Linked DNA regions of Homo sapiens: region 2 is linked to region 1. Evidence: promoter capture Hi-C in human tissues and cell types (Jung and others, 2019). All regions are on one chromosome and are shown on one strand. Each heading gives the region's core, a stretch centred on a gene start or on the middle of the fragment in contact. The rest is flanking DNA. Distances are from core to core; before and after follow the strand shown.

Evidence for each region. The method cuts DNA at HindIII sites, captures the fragments that hold promoters and counts their contacts. A contact is called where the count stands out against the background at its distance.
Region 2: a fragment that was not itself captured here is called in contact with the fragment with the promoter of SLC1A7 in region 1 in 2 of the 25 tissues and cell types used here (IMR-90 fibroblasts and thymus).

The regions. Positions count from the first base shown.
Region 1 is chr1:53,139,146-53,145,257 of GRCh38, forward strand. It overlaps SLC1A7 (solute carrier family 1 member 7), which reads right to left and starts at 3,493. Exons shown (of 11, transcript NM_006671.6): 1 at 3,170-3,493. The coding sequence starts at 3,304. The HindIII fragment of the contact is 7,479 bases long and covers 361-6,112 here.
Region 2 is chr1:52,968,355-52,974,466 of GRCh38, forward strand. All of the region lies in intron 6 of SCP2 (sterol carrier protein 2), which reads left to right. Among named protein-coding and RNA genes, the nearest start is that of SCP2, 44 kb to the left of the region's middle. The HindIII fragment of the contact is 5,158 bases long and covers 634-5,791 here.

The sequences.
Region 1 (6,112 bases), core at 2,243-4,742:
GTAGGGTTTGTCAACTGACGGCCCTCAGGGCAGGGTGACAGGTGCTGATCTGGCTTTTTCACTGGGGCTGGGTGGGATGGTAGAGGAGTCTCCTTTATAGCAGAATTTAGAGATCTTTTCTCTGAGGCCTCAGTGAGAGAAGTCTCTTCCTGCCTTTGGCTGAGGAATGACATGGTGCCTAAGCTCAGCTGACAGCGATCTGAAACCGTGCTGGGGACCCCACTCAGACAAGGATGTCTGTTAATTAGTTTGAAGTAGGTGCCTCAGCATGGCCCTCTCCCCAACACACACAGGGGTGGCCCAATACCCTCAAGTCCAGCTTCTCTGGTTCCTTGGGGCAGGCAGTGGGTGGAGATGGGTGGATGAGTCCCCCAACTGAATTGGAAGGTCCCTAGGGGTCTAACTGCTCTGGTTACAAAACTCCAAACCATGCCCAGGCTTTCAACCCCAGCCTCACCCTGCCTAGTGCAGCATCTTGCTCTGTTACGTTCTGGAGTCTGCAAGACAAACTGACTTGGTATCAACTTCCACAGACTAAGATTCCAGCTTTCTGTGAATGAGGTCATCAGCTCCACCCACCTCCATATTATCTAATTTGTTGTAGCCTCTCTATTTCTTTTTCTCAACTGTCTCCTTTTATATTCTCTTTATTCTTGGTGGTTTTACCTTTTAAAAATCCCATTACTAAAATGTTAGTGGAATTCTAGGAAGGAGGGAAAAAAATGGATACACCTGTGATTCACCATGGTTTAACTGGAAGTCTCAAAATGCTCAGTATTTTTAAATGAGACACTCATACACCAAGATAAAATCCTGTGATTTTATCAAGGATAAAAGTTCTTTTTCACAAATAGAACATTCTACCATTTTCCATATTGTTTATGATTTTTGCCTGTTGCATAAGCTTACAAAACAAGAAGTGTTTAGTTTCTGAGTCACAGGCAAAGAGATCAAACAGAGAAATCCCAGATTTCAAAGTAAGATGCTGAGAAAGCCAGTTTCTGCCAAATAATTGTTCTAAGCCTCTACATCCTTCCTTCAATTTATCTGGCAGGTTAATCCAGACTGGAATACATTTGCATTTCCAAACAGATGGGAAAGGCAGCTTTGGCAAAGTAGGCCCCAGATGAGTTTGGCTTTTAATAATAGGCATTCCAATTTGTTTTCACAAAATAATCTTCCTGCAGGAGATATATTTTTGTTGCTGAGGAAAATTAAAGAGAACAGATTGCAGATTTTTTTGTTCCATTGCCAGTTTAATGCAGCAGATAGTTGAGCGTTCTCTCTGTGCCTGACACAGGGCTAGGCTCACGTTTTGGTTAAAAAAAAAAACAAACCCATATGTTGTTCAGCAATATGCAGCTTGGTGGGAGAAAGAGACACCCATATAACCAGCTCTGAAGCCAGGCAGCCAGCAGCGGGGTTACAGTTACTTTCATCAGCTATGGATGATGAGATGGTTCCTGATGTAGATAGGACTTTAACAGGTACATAAGGGAGGGAGGGGGAAGTAACACGTAGTAAGCACCTACTGTATGCTGGGCATTGATGAATCCTTGGTTTATTCCTCATAATAATTCTAGTAGACATATACTGCCCCACATCCCATTTTACAGACAAGGAAACTGAGGCCCAGGGAGGAGAGAGGATATTGCCTAGCCATTTGCTAGCAGAGTCAAAGTTCAGGGTTTCTCTGCCTCCAGAGTCCATGCTTCTTCCTAAATAACTGCTCGAGGCTTAACAGGGTCACTATAGTCGTGGCTCAGTTCTCCAGGAGTGGGTGTTTTCCTTTTAATGGAAGACAAAGTCTAATGCCTGACCCCAGTTGTAGAGATGGCATTAGACATTAGTGAGCTGCGGGAAGAGGACTTTCTGGGAATAGGGACTCTTCCAGGAGCCCATTGACAAAGCCTCTCTCCTTGACCACACTTTAGACAGGCTCCTCTGAGCCCTCTTTTCCACTGGGCTTTGTCCTTGGGCCTTGTCTTCAGCCTGCATAGTCCAGCTGTAGCAAAAGTCCTGCCAAGTCAGTTTAGTGAGGATCCCTCACCCTCCAGCATCCTGATACTGGATCAAATTCCTCATCCCAGATCAATGTCTGATCACCCTGGCCTGCCTTCAACAAGAATCCCCCTACCCTGATGTCTCCTGTAGTCATTTTCTGTCCCCGACCCCCTCCCTCTGCTCGCTGGCTATAAATCTCCAGCCATCTTTGTTGTATTTGTGGTTGGGTCCCATCTCTCTCCCCAGGAGGTCTTGATAACTACCCCCCTACCACAATAGTCCTGAATAGAGCCTTCCTTACCAGTTTAACTAGTGGCAGAATGATTTTGTCCTTAACACCATGGGAATGTCCCTCCCTCTCCTGTAGGAGATGGGGGCTGACAGGGAAAGGGGCTCTTTCCCAGGAAACGCAGCTTCTTCATGGCAGTTACACAGGCTGGAAACCCGGGGCCTGGCTCCCCTTCCTGTCCCCCAGCCCACATCCAATCGGCCCCCACATCCTGAAGCTCCCCCTTTTGAAAACAGTTCTCACGTCTGTCCCTTTTGTCTGCACTGCCGCATCTCCCCCAGGCTGCCCCTTCTCGGCCCCCTGCCTGCCCCAGAATCACCCCCTCTCCACTCAGCACCTGAGGGGTCTCCCAAGCTCCAAACTGGCCTGTCGCTCTTCTGCCCAAAAGCATCTCATGGTTGCCGCAAGCCCACGTGTGGCGATGGGACCTATGGGCCTGCTGGCCTCTGCGCTCCGGCCGCTGCACCTGGCATCTGCTGTCACCTCTGCCTAGAGCACGCTTCCTGGATCTCTTGTCATTTGAGCAGCCTTTAGGAGGTGTTCTCTGGTGCCTGTTTGAACTCACACAAGACCCCCCTCTTTCCCCGCCACAGCTCTTGGCCCTGTGTTTGTCATCATGAGGCACCCTCGCCTCTCCTCACCTGATGGTGCTGGGTTTGTAATCACTCCCCAGCCACATCACTGGTTCTTCCCTCTAGTCCTGCAAAGTGTTTATCACACCCATGTTACAGATGAGAAAACCAGGACCCAGAGAGGCAGAGGGATTCACACACTGTCATGGCACCAGGGAGCTGTGATGCTAGAACGGGACCCCAGATCCCTCAGGCCCACACGCCCCTCCTGGACAGGGGTCCCGAGATGCTCTGGGTGGCTGACCTGTGGTGAGAGGCGCCGGGTCCTCAAGAAGAAGCCGAGGAGGCAGCCCACGATGACAGACAGCACAGACAGGATGAGGAGTCCATTCCGCCTGCACACGTCCCTCCCCCGTGCCAAGATGGCATGCGGCACCATGGTGAGCCTGGCCTGCTGGCAAGGGGCACAGCACCATTCCACGCATGAGAGCCCGGCCGGGGGCACAGGGTCTGGGCTGAGGGCTCTAGCCCCTCAGCAGGCAGGTGGTCGGAGTTGCTAAACACCAGTCGCCAGCCCCACGGCCATGCCCGTGTGGCCGCCTTAGAGGGAAGCCACAATCCTATTACCAGCTGCATCATTAGGAGCTGGGAGCAGATTAGGGCCTGGGAAATTAGAGCAGACCACGTGGTCTAGGAGTTCAGGCCTCAAAGCCAAGCGTTCCTCTTAAACAGTTGAGTGGACCAGGTACTGGAAGGAACAAGAGGAACATTTGCTTGGTTGGTTTGATCTTTACCCCTGCTTCCTTCCAGAAAGAATCAAAAACAAGACAGTAAGATATCAGTTTCCCTCAACATTAATTAAGCATTTACTATGCACCAGGTGCCATTCTAGAAGAGTGTTACATGTACTGGCATATTTAATCCTAACACCAATCCCAAGAAATAAGTACTATTAATATCACCATTTTACAGATAAAGAAACTGAGGTGGGTGGGTGCATGTGCTGCGGGCCAGGCCTGTGCTGGCTGCCTTAGCTATGCCAATCATAGGGAATTGTCCCAAAGATCCCAGGGTTCCCACCTTCATTTTTCAGAAAGGGAGGCTGAGACCCCAGAAGCCAGTCCCTTGGCCATGGTCACAGAGGTCAGAAGTCAGGGCTAGGCCAGTCTGTTTCCACCACATGAACAGGCAGATAGGTTCAAGGGTGCTTGGCAGTATTGTGGGGAATGTAGATTCGAGTCCAGGGGACCTGAGTTCAAAGGTGGGCTGTGCCACTCACCGGGAAATGGGACGTAGATGCTTCAGGGCTGTTTCAAGCCTGGTGCTGGGCACCCTGCAGGCTCTCTGGGCCTATTATTTTTTAAAGATGACAGAGCCCAAGAGACCCACATTCGGGTCCCAGCTCTGCCACTTACTAGCTGTGTGACCTCAGACAAGCATTTCATCTCACTGTGCCTCAGTTTCTCCATCTGTAAAATAGAGATGATAACAGCATCTACTTTGTTAGGGCTGGTACAAAATTCCACCCAGAGGGTATTTGGAAACGCAGTGTGAACCCTGGTGTGCTGAACAGGGGAACGGACTCTTAGGGTCATTATCACACTTAGTGCTTTGGAGAATAGGTGTCTTTTTGCTATTTCTTGTGGCCTGGCCTGCCCTGCCCTGTAAAGCCTGGGGGAATTAACCCTCGTCTATTTCACCAGAGATCTGTAATCTCATTAGGAGCAGTCAGGCAGCAGGCAGCAGGGAATGGGAAGTGCAGTCTGCAGTGAGGGTGGGAGGTAAAGGGTGGGGTGCACACAGGGGCTTCCTCCTCCTGACATAGGAGACAGGGGCAGAGGATGAAGAGGACGGGCCAAGTGGGGCATAGGGGAGAGGTGGGGAGAGGGGACTGGGGCACAGGCTCTGAAGCCATGGACAGAGCTCCTGACTGAGAAGATTCTGATCCCAATTTAATCAGCTCTGTGACCTTGCCGTCTCTGGGTATCAGTCTTGTCCTTTTTAGAATGAGAGAAATGGGCCCAGGTACCTTTGTCAAAGGAACTTCATTTCAACAAACCAATCTTCCAAAGCCCCTGCTCTTTGCAGTAGCTTGGGGTGGGGGGTGGGGGTGAATACAAGTCTGAGAGTTTTTTTTCCTCTGACTTTGACTCTTAAAACCAAAAGTTTCTTGCTACACCTTCAACTCCAACAAATGCCTCATTTTCCAAATAATCAGGTGGTTAGTTACTTCCCAGAAGAGAAAATATGCTAAGTAGGTATTTGGATTTGGGTTTTGATCAACTCCTGGGCTCAAACAATCCTCCCATCTTGGCCTCCTAACGTGTTGGGACTGCAGGCATGAGCCACCACACCCAGCCCAGACCTGGCCTTTAGCTGTGCCATGATATAGGTGAGTCTTGCTTTCTACCACAGCTCCATGACTCCCATTCCCAGGACGTGCCCTATAGCCACCACTGACTCCTCTCTCCCACAGGCTGAGCCTACCACTACCTGCCTACCAGACTACAGCCATTCTTTCCACTGTTCCTACGGTCTTCAACAGGAGAATTTCAACTCACTCTAGCAAATGTTCTTATAGCACCATTTAGTGTGCCACACCCCCTGGGTACTAGAAACACAACAGTGAATCAGACAGTACCTGCCCTGCCTTCAGGAAGCTTATAAGAAAGTGGAGAGACCCCAAGAACGGACTAATTCACACTAAAGTGTAAGTGACTGATAATGAGTTTACTAAGAATATTTGCAAATCAAATCAAGTCTCCTGGGTCAGAACCCTATAATAGTTCACCATTGACAAAGAATCAACTGCCTTTTACAATGTCACTAGATGTGCAAGACAATTTTTCCATAATTACATCAAAAGGAAGTTTGGGAAATGCTGGACGAAACAAAAAGTTAAGCACGTTATTTCCTCTGAGACAGCTCAAAGTCAGACTGCTAGAGTTAAAACCTCAGCTCTACCTTCAACCAGCTGTGTGACCTTGGGAACATTTCTTAACTTCCCTGTAAAATGGGGATAATGCAACAGTACCTAGATCATAGGGTTTTGATGTGGGTCATACAGTGCTGCATGCGCCATGGTTAGAGCGTGGCCCAGTGCCTTGCAGATAGCCCCAGGTAGTTACTATGAAAGTCTTTACAGTAGCGGCTGTGTCGGAGGAAGTCACCAAGTGGAGAATAGAGAATCCCACCCCTCCTCTGGAGCAGAGAACTCCCTGGGCCTGGTGTTTGGAGAACACGCCTG
Region 2 (6,112 bases), core at 1,963-4,462, 170 kb before region 1:
TTATGTCTATTCTTTCTATTCTTTACCCTCATTCATTTCTTCATCTTCCTGGTACTTTCTTTTGGTTTACTTTATTCTTATTTTTAGTTTTTTGACTTGGAGAATTCAATATTTTATTTCTTGTTAATATAACAGCTTTATTGAGGTATAATTCTTATATCATATAATTTACTCTTTTAAAGTGTACAATTCAGTGATTTTTAATATATTCACAGAGTTGCATGACCATCACCATGATTAATTTCAGAACATTTCATTAACCAAAAATGAAACCCTGTACCCATTAGCAGTCCATTACCTCCTCTTCTAGTTCCTGGCAGCCACTCATCTACTTTGTTTTTCTTTGGATTTGCCTATTCTGGACATTTTATATAAATGTACAGTTGGCCCTTGAACAACAGGGGGTTTAGTGGTACTGACCTGCACAGTCAGAAATTCATGTATAACTTTTGATTCCCCCCGAATTTAACTAATAGCCTGCTCTTGACCAGAAGCCTTAGTGGTAACATAAAAAATTGATTTACACATATTTTTTATGTTACATATATTATACACTATGCTCATAATAAAGTAAGCTAGACAAAAGAAAATGTTATTAAAATCATAAGGAAGAGAAAATATAGTTACTATTCATTAAGTGGAAGGTGATCATCTTAAAGATCTTCATCCTTGTTGCTCTTCTTCTTCATCATTTTCTTGTTGAGTAGGCTGAGGAGGAAGGGGAAGGTTGGTCTTGCTGTCCCAGGTGGCAGAGACAGAAGAGGTGGAAGAGGAGGCAGAAGAGGCAGGCATACTTGATGTAACTGTCATTGAAAAAAGTCCCCTTATAGTGGACCCATGCAGCTTAAACCTGTGTTGTTCAAGAGTCAAATATAATCAATATGTGGCCTTTCTGGATATGGTGATACACACCTGTAATCCCAGCACTTTGGGAGGCTGAGGCAGGTAGATCGCTTGAGCCCAGGAGTTCAAGACCAGCCTGGGCAACATGATGAAACCACAAAAGTTAGCTGGTGTGGTGGCACATGCCTATAGTCTCAGCTACTTGGGAAGCTGAAGTGGGAGGACTGCTTGAGCCTGGAAGGAGGAGGCTGCAGTAAGCCAAGGTCGCACCTCTGCATTCCAGCCTGGTTGACAGAGTGTGACCCTGTTTTTGTTTGTTTGTTTGTTTGTTTTTTCTAAAAAGGCCAGGCACAGTGACTCACACCTGTAATCCCAGCACTTTGGGAGGCTGAGGTTGGGGGATCCCCTGAGGTCTGGAGTTCAAGACCAGCCTGGCCAACATGGTGAAACCCCATCTCTACTAAAATACAAAAATTAGCCGGGCGTGGTCGCGTGTGCCTGTAATCCCAGCAACTGGGGAGGCTGAGGCAGGAGAACTGCTTGAGCCTGGGAGGTGGAGGTTGCAGTGAGCTGAGATTGCACCTCTGCACTCCAGCCCGGGCGGCAGAGCTAGACTCCATCTCAAACAAACAAACAAACAAACAAACAAAAAAAGTGGCCTTTTGTGACTGGCTTCTTTAAGTTAGTATATTTTCACTGTTCATTCATGTCATAGCATGTATTAGGACCTCATTCCTTTTTACTGCTTAATAATATTCCTTATGTCATTCATTTATTCTTATTAATAAATGGTTAGTGGTATATATTTTCCTGATTACTGTGTTAAATGTATCACATTGATTCTGATATGTAGTATTTTCATTATCATTATTTTCTGACAAGTTCTATAATTTCCATTTCTATTTTCATTTTTTACCCAAGAATTATTTCATGGAAATATTTTTTAAATTTCCAGGTGGACTTTTAATTTTATTAGTAATTTCTAGTTTTATTGCCTGGTGATTTGAGTGTGTTGTTTGTAGACTGAGGGGATTCTTAGTTCTATGGTGCCCTCTTCTGTAAGTGTAGTAGAATGGGGTCTTGCAATACTACCCAGGCTGACTCTTTTTAGGTGCAATCATGGTGCACCACAGCCACAAACCCCTGGGCTCAGGCAATACTCCTGTCTCAGCGTCCTGAGTCGCTGGGACTACAGGTGTACCTTGTCCTCTTTTGCTGCTTTTCTCCTTCACCGCTCAATTGCACCATACAAATGTCCTCTTACATACAAATGTCCTCTTATGCTGCTTTTCTCCTTCACTACTCAATTGCACCAAAAGGGACCTTGCCCTTTCATTTTGCTTTTTTTTTTCCTCTCAGAACTTATACCTTTAAGATTCCCACCTCAGATCTCCTGTGTTTTTCAGCCCATTCCATATAGTCATGGTTTGATCTATAGGAATATTTTCTTGGTATTTTCACACTTGGGGAGGAGGTCTTTCTTTTCTTGGTAGTTTAGAGCAGTTGTTGGCCTGCGATTATCTCCCCTCTTCTCTGCACAGTTTCCTCAGCCTGCCCATGTACCCTTAAAGGTTTGTGTAGAAACGTGAGCAGTTGTTGGCTGGGATTTGGTCTTATATATTTTTTCTTTTCTTTTTCTTTTTTTTTTAACTTATAGATAATTTGAAATTTGGCATTTTCTATTTTCTAGTTATGCTGAGAGTATGATTTGTGCTATTTTATTTTTTCTGGTTATTCTGTATTGGTTTTAGAGGCTATAGAGAGACACAGATTTTTTTTTTTTTTTTTTTTTTTTTGAGACAGAGTCTCAGTCTGTTGCCCAGGCTGGAGTGCAGTGGCGCAATCTCAGCTCACTGCAAGCTCTGCCTCCCGGGTTCACGCCATTCTCCCGCCTCAGCCTCCCGAGTAGCTGGGACTACAGATGCCCGCCACCACGCCTGGCTAATTTTTCTGTATTTTTAGTAGAGACGGGGTTTCACCGTGTTAGCCAGGATGGTCTCGATATCCCGACCTCGTGATCCACCCGCCTCGGCCTCCCAAAGTGCTGGGATTACAGGCGTGAGCCACCGCTCCCGGCCGAGAGACACAGATTTACGTGGCCTCCATTTTTCCTCAATTACCTGGAAATCCTGTTACTGATGTGTTTTTAAGTGTATATATTTTCTCAAGTTTTACATTGCTCAGAATAATTGGACAGTTTTCTAGTCTAAAATTTGAAATATAAATGTACACTATTTTAGTGGAAATGTCATTGTAGGGAACAAGGGCCTTGACCCTCTGAAGGTTCACTGAAAATCACTTACATGAGGCAGATTAACAGGAGAAAAGGCATACAAATTTATTTAACGTGTGTACACGGGAACATTCAGAATGAAGACTCAAAAAAATGGGAAATTGTCCATTTTTATGCTTAGGTTCAACAAAGTATGGAACAGCCCTATAGAAATATGATTGGACAAAAAGCATATGATCTAATGCTAATAGACTGAGTGGAGAAACCCAGCCAGGCCTGTCCATCTAGGTTCTTCTTGGCCTCTTTGAGCACACATTCCTTCCTTCTGGGCGTGGGGCAGGTCCCTTTCTGGAATGGGGGTCTTATGACCCACAGTCAAACAAGATAGGTCAGATAGTTTGTTTATGACCAGTTTTTACACAGAAAGGTGGAGGAAGTTAAAGTAATATTTCTAGGTTTTATGACTGGCTTTGGGGAAAAGGAGTTCTGGTTTCTATGACCTGCCTTGGGGAAGAGGGATTCTAGTTTCTATGGTTAGCCTCAGGAGAGAATGGGCCTGAGAGACAGGAGGGTAGGAGAAGGTCAGTGAAAAACTTTTGCTTCTGAGGCTATCATTTGGGGGTATTGTTTCTTTATTCTTCATTCGACAGATTTCTAAATGAATTGTAGAATTTTATATAATTTAAATTGTTATTTAAAATTGCTGTTTGTGAGTGTTCTGAATGTGCACTAGAAATGAATATGTAAGAAAGCTTATAGTAGTTTAAATCATTTGTAGAACCAGCCGAGTTTGTGGTTTCATAATTAAATTATAGGATATTAAAATAGTTTGACATAAAGGCATAGCCTTTGAATAGTCAAAAATCTTAATTGGCAATTCAGAATCAGTAGTCAATAAGCCCTTCATCAGTGGCCAGGCTTAATAAATATGTAAGTGACTGGCAGAATATTTTTCAAGGGGATGCTGTCTTTTATTGATTAATCAGATCCTATGTTACGAAAAAAGGAAGAAAAGATACGAACATTATTGAACATCTCTTATGTCAGACACCATGCCAAGTACTTTACTGTTTTAGCCACCCTTCTTCCTACCAATCTATGCATGGATTGCTTGCAAATCTAATAGAGACAATAAAGCATGTGTACTTCCTAAAACAAGGAATTTGTCACCAACTGAGGCCACCAATCCCAATTTTTAGGAGATTCCAATTGTTACAATTCCCTTTTTCATGTTGAACCCAAATCTCTCACCCTATGGTTTGCATCCATGGTCTTGTTTTTGTCTTCTGAGAATGACAGAAAAAGCCTATTTTACCTTGTAGCCCTTCAAATATCTGAAGCCAGCCTGACCCTATATTTAATTTCTTCTCTTAACTACTCTCATTAGACTTGTTTCATAACCCATAAGCAGTCTAATTGCTGTACTGTGATCCCATGTAAGCTATTCTGCTAGTCACATCACACTATGAAATCTCACTGAGCTTGAGGTTTCTCATAGTTGTTGCTCATTTTTGCAGGTTGTTGTGGGAGTTCAAGAATAGAACTGAGTGTTTAATTTATATTCTGATCCATCCTATTGATAGACCTTGTTGAAATTCAACATTATAGCAGTCCCTTCCAGCTTTAGGTTTGGTGAGAGAGCCTCTAGTTTTCTTACTCACTTTGTAATAGAAATATTAACAAGACCAGAGCTGAGGTTAGAAGTTAGTGCTAGAAACTTTTCTCTAGGTCAATGCATTAATTAATGCCTGTTGTTTCACATGAGTGTAATATTGGGAAATGCTTCATACTTTAATCCTCTTCTAGATGGTCATAATGCACATAGTGCAATAGTAAAGGCTCCAAATGTCTTACAGTAAAGACGTGTTTAGCTTTGTTTAACCATAGTCTAAACTTATTTGACAGAAGAACCCTCTTTTTTTTTTTTTGGTAACACCAAAAGATAAAAATGAAAATAACCCCCCAAAATCCCACACTACGATATTTCCTTATCTTGTCCAAAATGTTTTGAGAAATTTCGTTAATTTTCTTGCTGCTGTCCAGATACTATGTTTTCTTTGATCTAACAGTCAATTCAGTCACGAAAAGATAACACATAATTTGACTTGTCTTATTCTTATTGAACCCATATTGGCCTCCTCCTGATCACTATTCTTTTTTTGAGATGGAGTCTCACGCTGTCACCTAGGCTGGAGTGCAATGGCACAATCTCGGCTCACTGCAATCTCCGTCTTCCGGGTTCAAGTGATTCTCCTGCCTCAGCCTCCCAAGTAGCTGAGATGACAGGTGTATGCCACTATACCTAGCTAATTTTTGTGTTTTTACTACGCCTGGCTAATTTTTGTAGTTTTACTAGAGACAGAGTCTCACCATGTTGACTAGTCTGGTCTTGAACTCCTGACCTCAAATGATCCACCCACCTTGGCTTCCCAAAATGCTGGGGTTACAGGCATGAGCCATCGCGCTTGGCCCTGATCACTATTTTTATTGTTAGAAGATCACAAGTGTGGAATTTATCTTCTCTTTTTATTAGAATTGAGATAAGATTTGCTTAATTATATGTATGTCATTTTTGCTCTGAAGATCATCCTCCTTGATAGAGAAGAGAGAGATAAAACAGACATGGGGAACTTTGTACTTTACTGTGCCATTAATATAACATTATCAGCTCTAATTGGTGGCTTTCTTTTTTCTTTGGCCTTTACAGCACCAAATGAGAATTCAAAGCATATTTTATTCAGTTTTATCTTTTTAAAAGTAGTAAAAAAAAATTTTTTTTGCGTGTTTTACCTCATTACTGTACTTTTTTTTGTTTTCCTGACACGATTATTTAAATTTTCTGTTAAGGAATTTAAAAGGCATACATATTTCTTATCAGGATATAACTCTTCTAAAAACTTTTCTGTTTTATCATAAGGAAAGGGAGGAAGATGAAATATCTTATCATGCCCTGGAGGGTGTGAGTTGTGTAAAATTCTCTCAGTCTAGCGTACTGGGGTGTTTGACAGACTCCTAGAGGAATTGTAGTGTTCTCCT